Regions from separate parts of the Homo sapiens genome. Here all the other regions are linked to region 4. The links are contacts of gene promoters, found by promoter capture Hi-C in human tissues and cell types (Jung and others, 2019). All regions are on one chromosome and are shown on one strand. The core of a region is centred on a gene start or on the middle of the fragment in contact, and the rest is flanking DNA. Distances in the headings are between cores, read along the strand shown. Region 1 overlaps CDC37L1 (cell division cycle 37 like 1, HSP90 cochaperone). Region 2 has its middle 25 kb from the start of SLC1A1. Region 3 has its middle 50 kb from the start of JAK2. Region 4 holds the start of CD274 (CD274 molecule).

What was found. Contacts are between HindIII fragments. The study calls those that stand out against the background at their distance.
Region 1: a contact is called between a fragment that was not itself captured here and the fragment with the promoter of CD274 in region 4, in 1 of the 25 tissues and cell types used here (spleen).
Region 2: a fragment that was not itself captured here is called in contact with the fragment with the promoter of CD274 in region 4 in 1 of the 25 tissues and cell types used here (lymphoblastoid cells).
Region 3: a fragment that was not itself captured here is called in contact with the fragment with the promoter of CD274 in region 4 in 1 of the 25 tissues and cell types used here (lymphoblastoid cells).

Annotation. Positions count from the first base shown.
Region 1 is chr9:4,691,571-4,694,844 of GRCh38, reverse strand. All of the region lies in intron 3 of CDC37L1 (cell division cycle 37 like 1, HSP90 cochaperone), which reads right to left. Among named protein-coding and RNA genes, the nearest start is that of CDC37L1, 14 kb to the right of the region's middle. The HindIII fragment of the contact is 4,245 bases long and covers 1-3,274 here.
Region 2 is chr9:4,464,088-4,467,407 of GRCh38, reverse strand. It overlaps a transcript of GLIS3 not described here. Among named protein-coding and RNA genes, the nearest start is that of SLC1A1, 25 kb to the left of the region's middle. RefSeq lists enhancers at 1,310-1,379, 2,165-2,214, 2,225-2,274. The HindIII fragment of the contact is 6,998 bases long and covers 1-3,320 here.
Region 3 is chr9:4,933,967-4,936,879 of GRCh38, reverse strand. No RefSeq gene overlaps it. Among named protein-coding and RNA genes, the nearest start is that of JAK2, 50 kb to the left of the region's middle. The HindIII fragment of the contact is 7,942 bases long and covers 1-2,913 here.
Region 4 is chr9:5,449,292-5,452,565 of GRCh38, reverse strand. CD274 (CD274 molecule) reads right to left here and starts at 2,024. Exons shown (of 7, transcript NM_014143.4): 1 at 1,970-2,024. RefSeq lists enhancers at 1,748-1,907, 2,198-2,247. The HindIII fragment of the contact is 6,419 bases long and covers 1-2,471 here.

The sequences.
Region 1 (3,274 bases), core at 157-2,656, 760 kb after region 4:
AGGCTGGAGTACAGCAACACGATCTCAGCTCACTGCAACCTCCACCTCCTGGGTTCAAGTAATTCTCCTGCCTCAGCCTCCTGGAAGCTGGGATTACAGGCGTGTGTCACCACGCCCAGTTAATTTTTGTATTTTTAGTAGAGACAAGGTTTCACCATGTTGATCAGGCTGGTCTCGAACTCCTAACCTCATGATCCACCTGCCTCGGCCTCCCAAAGTGCTGGGATTGCAGGTGTGAGCCACCACTCCCTGCCAAATGTTAATATTTTTTAACTACCTATTTAATACCTGAGACGAATTAACACTTGACATTGAAAATACATTTTTTTTTTAAATCTGAGAAATACTATCACTTGATTTCAAAAATGCACATTGAATTAGTATGAAATTGAGAAGTTCAGTTACAGGTAGTCGATACAGACCTTTGTGGAAAGAGTGTGGAATTTTATGAACAAAATAAAGACAGGTGGGGCGCAGTAGCTCACACCTGTAATCCCAGCATTTTGGGAGGCCAAGGCAGGAGAATCACCTGAGCACAGGAGTTTTAGGTCAGTCTAGGCAACAAAATGAGACCGTGTCTCCACACAAAATGAGATAATTAGCCAGGCATGGCGGAGTACACTTGTAGTCCCAGCTACTTGGAAGGCTGGGGCAAGAGGATTGCTTGAGCTTAGGAAATTGAGGCTGCAGTTGCTATGATCTTGTGACTGTAATCCAGCCTGGGTGACAGAAAATGACTCTGTTTCAAAAATAAAACACATAAGGAGAATCAACAACTCAGTGGAACAGCATATACCTCAAATTACTGATATTATTTTGGAATTTGTAAACAAACTTGTATACAAATGGAGAGTAACAATTTAAGACAGCGGCTGAGAAGACAGACTAGAGCTAAATGGCCCAGGTTCAAATACTGGCTTCACCATTTTACTACTGCAGTTCCCTTTATATGCCTCCATTTCCTCCTCTGTAAAATAGGGCTAAAAATAGTACCTAACTCAGGATTTTCATGACAATTAAATGCTATTAATTCATATAAAGCACTTAGAACAGTGCCTGAGACATAGTAAATACTCGATAAATGATAAGCACCCATTCAAAATGTTTATTTAGCTAATCCTTTGGTTAAGGATAATACAGTCATTTAAACTAGCCAAACAATTTCTCTGAATGCTTGGAAAACCTCACTTTGACAAGTTTAGATATTTTAATCATATGCTTTAACCTATATATTTCCCTAGTGAACGTCTAAATCTCAATCCATCATCAACCTTCAATATGCCACCTGATTCCTAAAATGGTCCTGAAATACACGTCCTTCCTTATTACTGATTTCCCTTTCCTCTTTCATTACACTTATAGAATTATTATTATTATTAATTAATTTATTTCTTTATCTTGAGAGACAGGTTATTCCTCTGTTGTCTAGGCTAGAGTACACTGGTGCAATCACAACTCATTGCAGCCTCAACCTCCTGGGCTCAAGAGATCCTCCCACCTCAGCCTCTGCAGTAGCTGGGACTACAGGTATAAGCCTCCACACCTGACGAATTTTTTTTTTTTTTTGTAGAGATGAGGTTTCACTGTGTTGCCCAGGCTGGTCTTGAATCCCTGGGCTCAAGTGATCCTCCAGCCTCAGTTTCTCAAAGTGCTGGGATTACAGGCAGAACCACTATGCCAGGCTTAGAATGATATATTTTAACAAACTACACTAATTCATTTTAATTTCTCTGTGTACTAAAAATCTCCCAGGTAGTTTGTGAATTACTTGAGGAAAGTTGTATGATCATTTCCCATATTCCTAAACTCCAGATCTCCTCTATTTCCAATCGTCTACCACCATATGCATTTCTACTGATATGCCTGCACGTAAACCCATCTTACTTGAAACCAAACCCATACTTGTCTCTCTGCCATCCTACAATGTTTCCTAGGCTCCATGTTACCAAATCAAGCATTCTAGAAATTCCTCTGACATTTCCATTTCTCCCACATCAAATTGACCACCAAGTCCTGTGGTTATACTACTATGATCAGTTAATACAGTGAATCACATTAATGAGTTTTCTAATGTTAAGCCATTTTGATTCTTAGGATAAACGCTTTGAAAAATTTTTTTCAGATTATAAAAATAAAGTTTATTTATTATGAAGAATTTTTAAAATCCGGAAAATAAAAGTTAGCTGTAATTCTACCACAAGAGATTACTGTTAACATTTTGATGTATTTCCTTCCAGGCATATTTTTGAATGACTTTTTAAAAAACCAAAATTAAGGCTCAGAGTGGTGGCTCACGCCTGTAATCCCAGCACTTTGAGAGGCCGAGGCGGGCGGATCATTTGAGGTCAGGAGTTCAAGGCCAGCCTGGCCAACATGGTGAAACCCCATCTCTACTAAAAATACAAAAATTAGCCAGGCGTGGTAGCAGGCGCCTGTAATCCCAGCTACTCGGGAGGCTGAGGCAGCAGGAACGCTTGAACCCGGGAGGCGGAGGTTGCAGTGAGCTGAGATCACACCACTGTACTCCAGCCTGGGGGACAAGAGCGAGATTTCGTCTCAAAAAAAAAAAAAACATTAAAATCATATACATTTTCTATTCATTTCACTTCATATGTAAGAGTGCTTTATATTAAATGTTTTTCAAAAATAAGATATTGATATGTTTTTTAAAAGCAATGAACAATTACATTGAAGAGGTTGTAAATATTCATAGTCAGAACAAACGAAAAAACTTCTATCATAGTATTTGAGCAAACTTTTATAGCTCTTGGTAAAATTTCCAGTGACAACATCCTACACAGATTAAAAAAAGCTGAATCACAGCTAACTTTGGCTGAAAGTGAAGATGATGTGCTCTGAAAATTAGATGACTCAAAAAGCAGCTCTGATGACCATAAAGCCAGTGATGTCAAACATGCATATAACTGTGAATATAACGGTTGTGAAATTTAAGAGATAAAAGCCTTTGTTTTTAAATTAATATTTTATATTTATAAAACGTGAATTAACTAAATTAATAAACTAAATACAAATGTAGAGGAAAAAGTCAGATTTCAATGCTTTATAATAGTCCATGATATATTGTACCATTTACCACTAGGTGGTAAATTCCACCTAATTGTAAGGGTAAAAGCAGCACAAGAAAGGCAGTCAACAAATTGTATAAGGGAAAAGTTAGGAAAAACTCTGAAGAATATAAGTACAAATAAGACCACAGAGAAACATGGGTGTAAAGCCCCTATAGCCCTATACAGCCCCCACACACACCAGGCCC
Region 2 (3,320 bases), core at 744-3,243, 990 kb after region 4:
CATATGAGGTATCAGTGGCCACCTACTGGGAGGTGTCTCCTAGTTATACTACTCGGGCTCAGGGACCCACTTGAGGAGGCAGTCTGTCCGTTCTCAGATCTCAAACTCCATGCTGGGAGAACCACCACTCTCTTCAAAGCTGTCAGACAGGGACGTTTAAGTCTGTAGAAGTTTTTGCTACCTTTTGTTCAGCTATTCCCTGCCCCCAGAGGTGGAGTCTACAGAGGCAGGCAGGCCTCCTTGAGCTGTGGTGGGCTCCACCCATTTTGAGCTTCCTGTCCACTTTGTTTACCTGCTCAAGCGTCAGCAATGGCAGATGCCCCTCCCCCAGCCTCGCTGCCACCTTGCAGTTCAATCTCAAACTGCTGTGCTAGCAGTGAGTGAGGCACCGTGGGCATGGGACCCGCCGAGCCAGGTGCGGGATATAATCTTCTGGTGTGCCATTTGCTAAGACTGTTGGAAAAACGCAGTATTAGGATGGGAGTGTTCCAATTTTCCAGGTACCATCTGTCACGGCTTCCCTTGGCTAGGAAGGGGAATACCCCGACCCCCTTGCACTTCCTGGATGAGGCGATGCCCTGCACTGCTTCAGCTCACACTCCGTGGGCTGCACCCACTGTCTGACAAGCCCTAGTGAGATGAACCCTGTACCTCAGTTGGAAATGCAGAAATCACCCATCTTCTGCGTCGCTCACGCTGGGAGCTGTATTCTGGAGCTGTTCCTATTCAGCCATCTTGGAACCTCCACCTAGTTCTCTCTATTAATTGGGTTTTGCCTGATACACCAACCTGCATTTCCAGTATAAATCCCATTGGTTATGATGTATTATCCTTTATATATATTGTTAGATTAAATTTGCTAACATTTAAAAAAATTTTATATCTATGTTATGAGGGCTAATGTTCTGTTATCCTACTTTCTTGTGATGCCTTTGTCTCGTTTTGGATTAAGGGTAATACTGGCCTCATAAAATGATTTGATGTTTCTTCCTTCTCTATTTTCTGAAAAAGTGTGTGTAGGATTATAACCTTAAAATATTGGGTAGAATTCATCAGTGAAGCCATCTGGGCCTGGAGTTTCTTTGTGGAAAGCTGTCAACTATGAATTTAATTTCTTTTATTGGTATTGGGCAGTTCGAGTTTTCTATTTCTTCTCAGGTCAATTTCAGTAATTTGTGTCTTACAATGAATTGTCTATTTCATCTAAGTTGTCAAATTTATTGGCATAAAGTTGTTCATTATATACCCTTGTATCTTTAAGGTCCTTTAGATCTGCACTGATGCCTTTTCTTTCACTTTTGGTATTGGTAATTTGTGTCTTCTCTTCATATTTTTCTGAATCAGTATGGTAGAAGTTTGTGAATTTTACCATTTCCTCTATCAAAGAACCAGCTCTTGGATTCGTTGATTTTCTGTATTGTTTTTCTGTTTTGTGGGCCACATTTTTAAAGTAGTCTCATCTCTGTGATCTTTTACTCTCAAATCTTGGCAATTTTCTATCAACTTCAAATGCACTTAATGCTTTCAAATAGATTTTTAAATTATGTTTTCTGGCTTTTCAAGTTGTTCTTAGCAGGAGCACTAATCTACCACATGTTACTTAGTTAGAGCCAGAGGCAGAAATCCAAGAGGTATAATTTTTTTTGAAAATTTTTTTGAATTTAAAAAATTTTTGTAGATGCATAGTAGGTGTATATATTTGTGGAATACATAAGATGTTTTGATACAGGCATGCAATATGAAATAAGCACATCATGGGGAATGGGGTATCCATCCCCTCAAGCATTTATCCTTGGATTTACAAATAAATCCAGTTACAAGAATTATTATTTATTATCTTTTCTTTTTTATATTTTTTTGAGTCGGAGTCTCACTCTGTCGCCCAGGCCGGAGTGCAATGGCATGATCTTGGCTCACTACAGCCTCTGTCTTCCGGGTTCAAGAGATTCTTGTGCCTCCGCCTCCCTAGTAGCTGGGACTACAGTTGCGTGTCACCATGCATGGCTAATTTTTTGTATTTTTAATAGAGATGTGGTTTCACCACGTTGGCCAGGCTGGTCTCGAACTCCCGACCTCTGGTGATCCCCTTGCCTCGGCCTCCCAAAGTGCCGGGATTACAGGCATAAGCCACCGTGCCCGGCCTATTATCGTTATTTAGACTAAGAATGTATGCAATGTTATATGTAAATTTCCTCCATTCTTACAGGATTATCCTTTCTCTGGTCATGAACTGAAAAATGTGCTGAAACATCTGTAACTGATGGGCAGTCCCCAAGGACTATTTTGTAAGAGGAAGAGAGAGGGAAATGTTGATTCTGGTAATGCTGTAGGTTAAGTATGCAAATATAAAGCAGAGTTTCTGAAGAAATGTGTCACTGAAGTTTGTTATTGCTAACCCCTTGGCCACATCCATTTATAGCTTGTGCAAATATGTCTGCTTAGAGGAATACACTATACTAGCTACCAGTGACAGGTTTGTGTTTTATCTTAATACCATTTTGGGGGGTTTCTTCTCATATTCACATGTGTCTTTCCATCAGGTTTAAACTCAAATGTGAAGTCTCTTCAGATCAGCATTTCCTGGCTTCAATATTCTGCATACAACCTTTACAATTTTTTTCTTCTTCTATATACCACTTATATTATTTGCCTAAGATTTTCTTTGAACTTATTTTCTTTTTATTCAATTAATGCCTTTTCAAAGAAAATATCAGGCCAGGCATGGTGGCTCATGCCTGTAATCACAGCACTTTGGGAGGCCAAAGGAGGTGGATCACTTGAGGTCAGGAGTTCAAAACCAGCCTGGCCAACATGGTGAAATCCCGCCTCTACTAAAAATACAAAAATTATGCTGGTGTTGTGGTGGGCACTTGTAATCCCAGCTGCTCGGGAGGCTGAAGCAGGAGAATCGCTTGAGCCCAGGAGGTGGAGGTTGCAGTGAACTGAGATTGTGCCACTGCACTCCAGCCTGGGTGACAGAGCAAGACTCTGTCTCAAAAAAATAAATAAATAAAATTAAAAAAATAAAATTATAAAAAATAAATAAATAAAAGAAAATATTACTATCACAAATTGAAATCAATACTGCTTGTCAAAATCATGGTAAAAATTAAAACAGTGAAACTAAAACAATTTTATTAAATGCTACAAAGAGACCATTGCCTGTTGGAGACTCTGACCCCCAGGCCTGCTCTCTTTATTAAAATAAGCAACGTTAGAGAGGTTTTAAAGTCTACATAAGCTGAGCTGTTCTCCTTAATATAATAAAAAAAACCTGACACAGAAATGAAAAGGGAGTGATTTTTTCCTGTGTGATTCTA
Region 3 (2,913 bases), core at 65-2,564, 510 kb after region 4:
TTGAACTCAGAAATATCTTCTTTGACCATTAAAAAATCCTAATGTGAATGTTGGAAGAAAGATATGTGTGTGTTTAAATATATATTACATATTAACTAAATATATATTATATATTTAATTAAAATTAAAGTAAACTTAATAGTGTAAATCACTTATGAAATTCAAAGGGAACTGCAAACTCAATTAAAAACTATTTTTTTTCTGGGGAGAGTAGCAATTCAAAGACCCAAATACAAGAAAAAATTGTAGCTTTTGTGGGTAATGGGCTTGGCTTTGTCGTTGCTGTTGCTGTTGTTCTCGTTACTTGTATTTCTTTCTGTTTCATTTCCCAGAAATAAAAACTGTTTCCCTTTCATTATTTCCACTTTCCAAATTACATTACACACTAACTGAATCAGCTTTCATTCTCCGCTCACAATTAAAGCTTCCAACCCACATTTCCCTTCTCCTGATTTTTACATGTCAGAAACCTAACTGTACAATTGGTGCCAGCTTCCTAGTTTGCTCCTACTCTTTCTAACAGCACAGCTTGGCACTTTCTTCAGGAAGCACTATAACTGTTTAAGGAGATAATGGAGACTGATATATTTTACATTACCTACCTCCATGTTATGAGTGGGAAAACCAAGGCATATCAAAGTTCAGAAGTGAAATGGAATTCTTAGGTCACAAAAAGAATCATGCGAGGGAATTGTGGACCCCTCCACGAATCTCTTGGCCAGACACTCTCTTGATGTTTATTTAGAAGAGGTAACCCTAGGGACAAGAACAGGGACTGAATTGTGGAGAGGAATCACACATAGGGTAGAGGTTGTAGGTGATGTCTAAAGTCCCTTCCGAGTCTAAGATTCTGTAAAATTGCTTTTTTGGGGTTTCTTCGAACCTTGGCTTAATGAGCCTTTCCTTGTGCCAGGTATATTCTGAGCTGGGTGCCTTCCTCTAGCCGCTTTTCTGTAAGGAAACAACTGAATGACCCAACTCCTAAATCTGGACTTCCTGCTGCTGCTGCTCTCCCAAGTCAGAAATCAAACAAAAACTAACAAACATTAAACAATAAAAACAAAAACAAAAATTAACAAACACCGAGTGAGCATATTTTGTTTACTGGCTGCTAAACTAGGTCTGGGCAAAGTTTTAATAGTTGGCAACATGACAAGAAAAACGAAACTGTTAAAACACCATGAATTTAAAAAAATAAATAAATAAGGATAATTAAAGATGTCAGCAGGAAGTATTATACAGTGATGGGGGGTGAGTGTATTGGGATTCTGTGACCTTGAACAAATTATTCAAGATCACTAATCCTTTACCACATCTGTAAAAGGGAACAATAATGGTGCATTCCTCGTAGGACAGTCATGAGGTTCAAATGAGGTGATTATGTGAAATGCTTAATGGTGCTGGAAGCACAGAGCACATATTCAGACTTGATTCATCCATTGGCTTCTCCACATGCTCTCTGTCCTTCTCCAGGCTCCCTTGCCCTGGGAGGCTAGCCTATATGGCTTCTGCCTGGGTTTGCTTGCCTGAGAGGCCCAGTAGGAGCATGGGGGAAGGAAAGAAGGGGAAAGTGAGGCGTGTATTCTCCAGCTCCCTCCCTGGAGGGTTGCCATGGGGCTGTCAAGGTTTCTTGACAGTTGGACACAAGGCCTGCAAAGTGTCCCTTCCCACACAGCCTTCAAGCCTAGATGAGGTAATGGTACCTTGCTGTGGGTCATTGTGCTCTCCCTGGCAGTTCCTTACATGCTCGCTGAACCACTGTAAATTGTCCTTCTGTTAAACTCTGCTCAGATTACCCAAATGGAGTGCACTGTTTGATAGAGTAGCCAGTAACAGCCCTAGCAGAGCAGTAGCAGTTGCAGTTATTTCGAGTATGAGATTAAGCACCAAATGAATTTTAAGACATGCAAAATACATAATTAAGCGGGAATAAATTCCCCCACCTGCAGAAGGCAGCTGAAATACCTCAGATACAGACCATCCCACATGTCTTAGACCTTTTTATAACATCCCTGAGGAATAGCTCTCTCTTTGAAAAATCTTCTCTTATTAGGGTTGCCACATTTAGAAAACAATGACAAAAACAAACAGGAAGCCCAGTTAAATTTGAATTTCCGATAAACAATAAATAGTTTTTTTTTTCTTTTTTTGAAATGGGGTCTCGCTCTTGTTGCTTAGGCTGGAGTGCAATGGCATGATCTCGGCTCACCGCAGCCTCCGCCTCCCGTGTTCAAGCAATTCTCCTGCCTCAGCCTCCCAAGTAGCTGGGACTACAGGCACGCACCACCATGCCTGGCTGATTTTTTGTATTTTTAGTAGAGACAGGGTTTCACTGTGTTAGCCAGGATGGTATCAATCTCCTGACCTCTTGATCTGCCTGCCTTGGCCTTCCAAAGTGCTGGGATTACAGGCATGAGCCACCACGCCCAGCAATAAATAGTCTTTTAAATGCATGTCACAAATATCAATGCTGTTTATCTGAAGCGTGTTCATTGTTTATCTGAAATTCAAGTTTAACTAGGTATCCTGTGATTTATTTGGCAACCCTACCTGTCATAGGAAGATTTGGACCCTTTCATTAATTGTTTCTTCAATACATACTTAAGAACACACTTGCCTTTACACTGGATGGGAAAGTCAGGCTTCATGATTGACCAGTATTTCCCCATGGAAAAATATGTTCCATATCAACCTGAGTCTGTAAGTGATGAGTATGGAGAAGCCAACCTCTGGGTCACATTCTATTCAAGATACATTGGCCGGGAGTGGTGGCTCATGCCTATAATACCAGCACTTTGGAAGGGCAAGGCAAGAGGAGTACTTGAGGCCAGGAATTCAAGACCAGCCTGGGCAACATAGCAAGACTCCATGTCTAAAAAAAATTTTTTTTAATTAGTTGGGTGTGGTGCCACA
Region 4 (3,274 bases), core at 775-3,274:
TTGGTCTAAGAGAAGAAGACTGACATCTTCTTCAGGTAAGAATTATGACCATATGTGAATTCCCATATCCGAATGGAGACATTTAAAGAGCAATGAAATGTAAACTGGGGAAGAAGTGATGGCTCATTCAGGTTGGGGAAGTGGGTTTGTCCCTGGGGGAAGCCCAGTATAACACTATGGAACTAATACTACTTCTCTATCTTCCAAGGGTAGGATGGGTAGGAGGATGAGATAGAGAAAAAGTTAAGCAGCCAGGAGCAGTGGCTCATGCCTGTAATCCCAGCACTTTGGGAGGCCGAGGCAGGCGGATCACCTGAGGTCAGGAGTTCGAGATCAGCCTGGCCAATATGGTGAAACCCCATTTCTACTAAAAATACAAAAATTAGCTGGGCGTGGTGGCAGGTGCCTGTAGTCCCAGCTACTCGGGAGGCTGAGGCAGGAGAATCACTTGAACCCGGGAGGCAGTGAGCTGAGATTGCACCACTGCACTCCAGCATGGGCAACAGAGTGAGACTCTGTCTCAAAAAAAAAAAAAAAAAGACAAAAAAAACCGGTTAAACTTCCTTTCTCAAAAGTAGGAGCAAGAGGCCTGCATGGTGGCTCCCGCCAGTAATCCCAGGACTTCTGGAGCCTGAGGAGGGAGGATCGCCTGAGGCTAGGAGTTCGAGAACAGCCTGGGCAACATAACAAGAGCCCCATCTCTACAAAAACAAAAAAAAAATTCTTAAGTAGGATCAAAGATTAAGACAGTTGATTTATTAAACCTCTACTAAGTGACCAAACTTTATTAAACTCCATGAAACCCCATGCCCAACCTCCTTCTCAGTCACACTGAGACACTCTTGTACATTTTCCACATGGGGTTTCAATTCCCCACAGTATTTCTGTGACTTCCTTGAAGACCACACTCTAACTGCTGTCATGTGGCCTCTGCCTACCTACTTTTACTGAGAAAGGCTAAGTTTTTCTTCAGAGTATCATAGTTCTCCTTAAATACTGTTGACGACTGTCATTGTCAACTGATACATCCTTTCTGGAAAGCATTTTCAGTTTTCTTCAAAAGGCCTTTAAAATATTCAGGCTCTTTGACTAAGTAGTTACACTTCTAAGTTTACTTGAAGGAAACAATCAGCAATATTCCAGAGATATATATGCAATGAGTTCAGTGAATGGCTAAGACAGAACCACTGTAAATAACCTTTATACCCAACAGTGAGGAATTAATTTCATTTAGTTACCCAATCTAATCGAATGCAGCAATGAAAACATTTTTTAGAAGGTTATTTAATTCATAGAAAAGCATCCACAGTAAATTTTTTTCAAGTATTAAAAAAAGAGGTAGAACAATGGTACTTTTACTCCTTGTGTTATAAGACAAACCCAGACTGAACTTTGACATAGGCCAAGGTCAATGTGTCTAAGAAATGTTTTATTATACTATTTTTATTCTTAGGCTCCTCCATTCCTCTTTTAGGACTCCTTTGGGTTCTCAGAATGGACAGAGCAAATAAATTCCGTTCAGGGATCCTGGACCTGCTTAGCGCAGGAAGAGACTTACTTAGATGCTGCAGCTGGGATAACTTACACAAGTCATGTTACTAGCAAGCAGCTGGCGGTGGACTTGGACCCGTGTCCAGACCTCCAGCCTAGCATCAGAGCTATATTCTGAACACACAGTCGCATAAGAATGACTACCTATCCTATACTACCTATCTTATTTATTTTTAGAGGTATAAATTATTTTTAGAGCAAAACTGAATCGCGCCTGGAGGAAGGCCAGATGCATTGCCTGTTCTTATTAACCCCAACAGGTAATTGGCTCTACTGCCCCCTAGACCATCGCGTTCCCTTTCCCTTCTCCTCTCTCCATCCCAAAGAAAGGGTGTAGAGACCCTCCGTCCTAAAGTGCCCAGCGAGCTAGCCAGAGATACTGGGCCGTGGGCACCCGCGGAGGAACAACGCTCCCTACCTGCAGGCGGACAGAAGCGCGGCTGGTGCGGAGCCTCGGGAAGCTGCGCAGAACTGGGGCCGCGCGGGACGCGCCAGCTGCTCAGCGTTGCGCCAGGCCCGGAGGCGGGGTCCCGCCCACCTCTGCCCAAGGCAGCAAATCCAGTTTGCCGGGCGTTGGACTTTCCTGACCTTCGGTGAAATCGGCGGAAGCTTTCAGTTTAGGTATCTAGTGTTGGTGTCCTAGGAATAAAGCTGTGTATAGAAATGAAACAGAAAGTGAAACATGTCAGTCCAGTTTTCTTGTAAATGAGATTTTCACCGGGAAGAGTTTCGAAGATTAAAGCAAATCCACATTTAGTATGTTATTAATAAAAAAAGAAATTTACAACAAGCCAACATCTGAACGCACCTTGATTTTACCTTCAGAGGGGTAAGAGCTTAAGGTTACCCCTTAACCTTTATCAGAAAGGCGTCCCCCTTTCTGATAAAAGCCTCTTCAAGGTGACTGAACATCTTGACATAACTTGATATAACTCTACAACATATAAAAAGTCAGCAGCAGACCCATATGGCTTTGGTTTTTATTCTAGAAAGTAGGTGTGTGTGTGTGTGTATGGGTGTATAATAGGAAATATATTTTTAAATCGTGGATTCTGTGACTTCCTCAAAGTTCCTCGACATAATGAAACTTCATTTGCTTTGTCATTAAAAGAACTTCCCATCCCGAGCTACATCTTTTAAGAATGCTCAGGGTCCCTGATATTCTGCCACCCTAAGGATTAAGGCTGCGGAAGCCTATTCTAGGTGAGGGTTAAGAAAGCCCTTTTGAAAGCTTTGGGTTAGTGAATGGGCCCAAGATGACAGACGATGGTGTCATAATTTACTTAAGTATTATCCCGCGCTGAACTTCTAGGTGCTCTCTTTTCTCGAACTCCTTGACCTCAAGTGATCCGCCAAAGTGCTGATATTACAGGCTTGAGCCACCGTGCCTGTGTGCTCCCTTTTCTTTTTTTTCTCTTTTTCTAAATTGAGAAATTGGACTCTTCGTTGTTTGCCTTTCCTTCTTATTCATTTCAACTGCAGTTCAAAATACTGCATAATGAATGAATATTGAGATAGCCCTTGCATTGGTTATGACATTTGCTTCCAAAATAAGAATTTTCACATTCTGATTGTATCACAGATTTTTATTTTTATCTGGGAAATTATTGAGGCTGACACTGCCTTGATTTGGCAGGAGCATGGAGTTCTCTTTGGCCCCAATAAAATTGCAATAGGGTTTGGGCCCAGCTCAGATGTTCCTTCTTTCAAATCACTTTTGAGG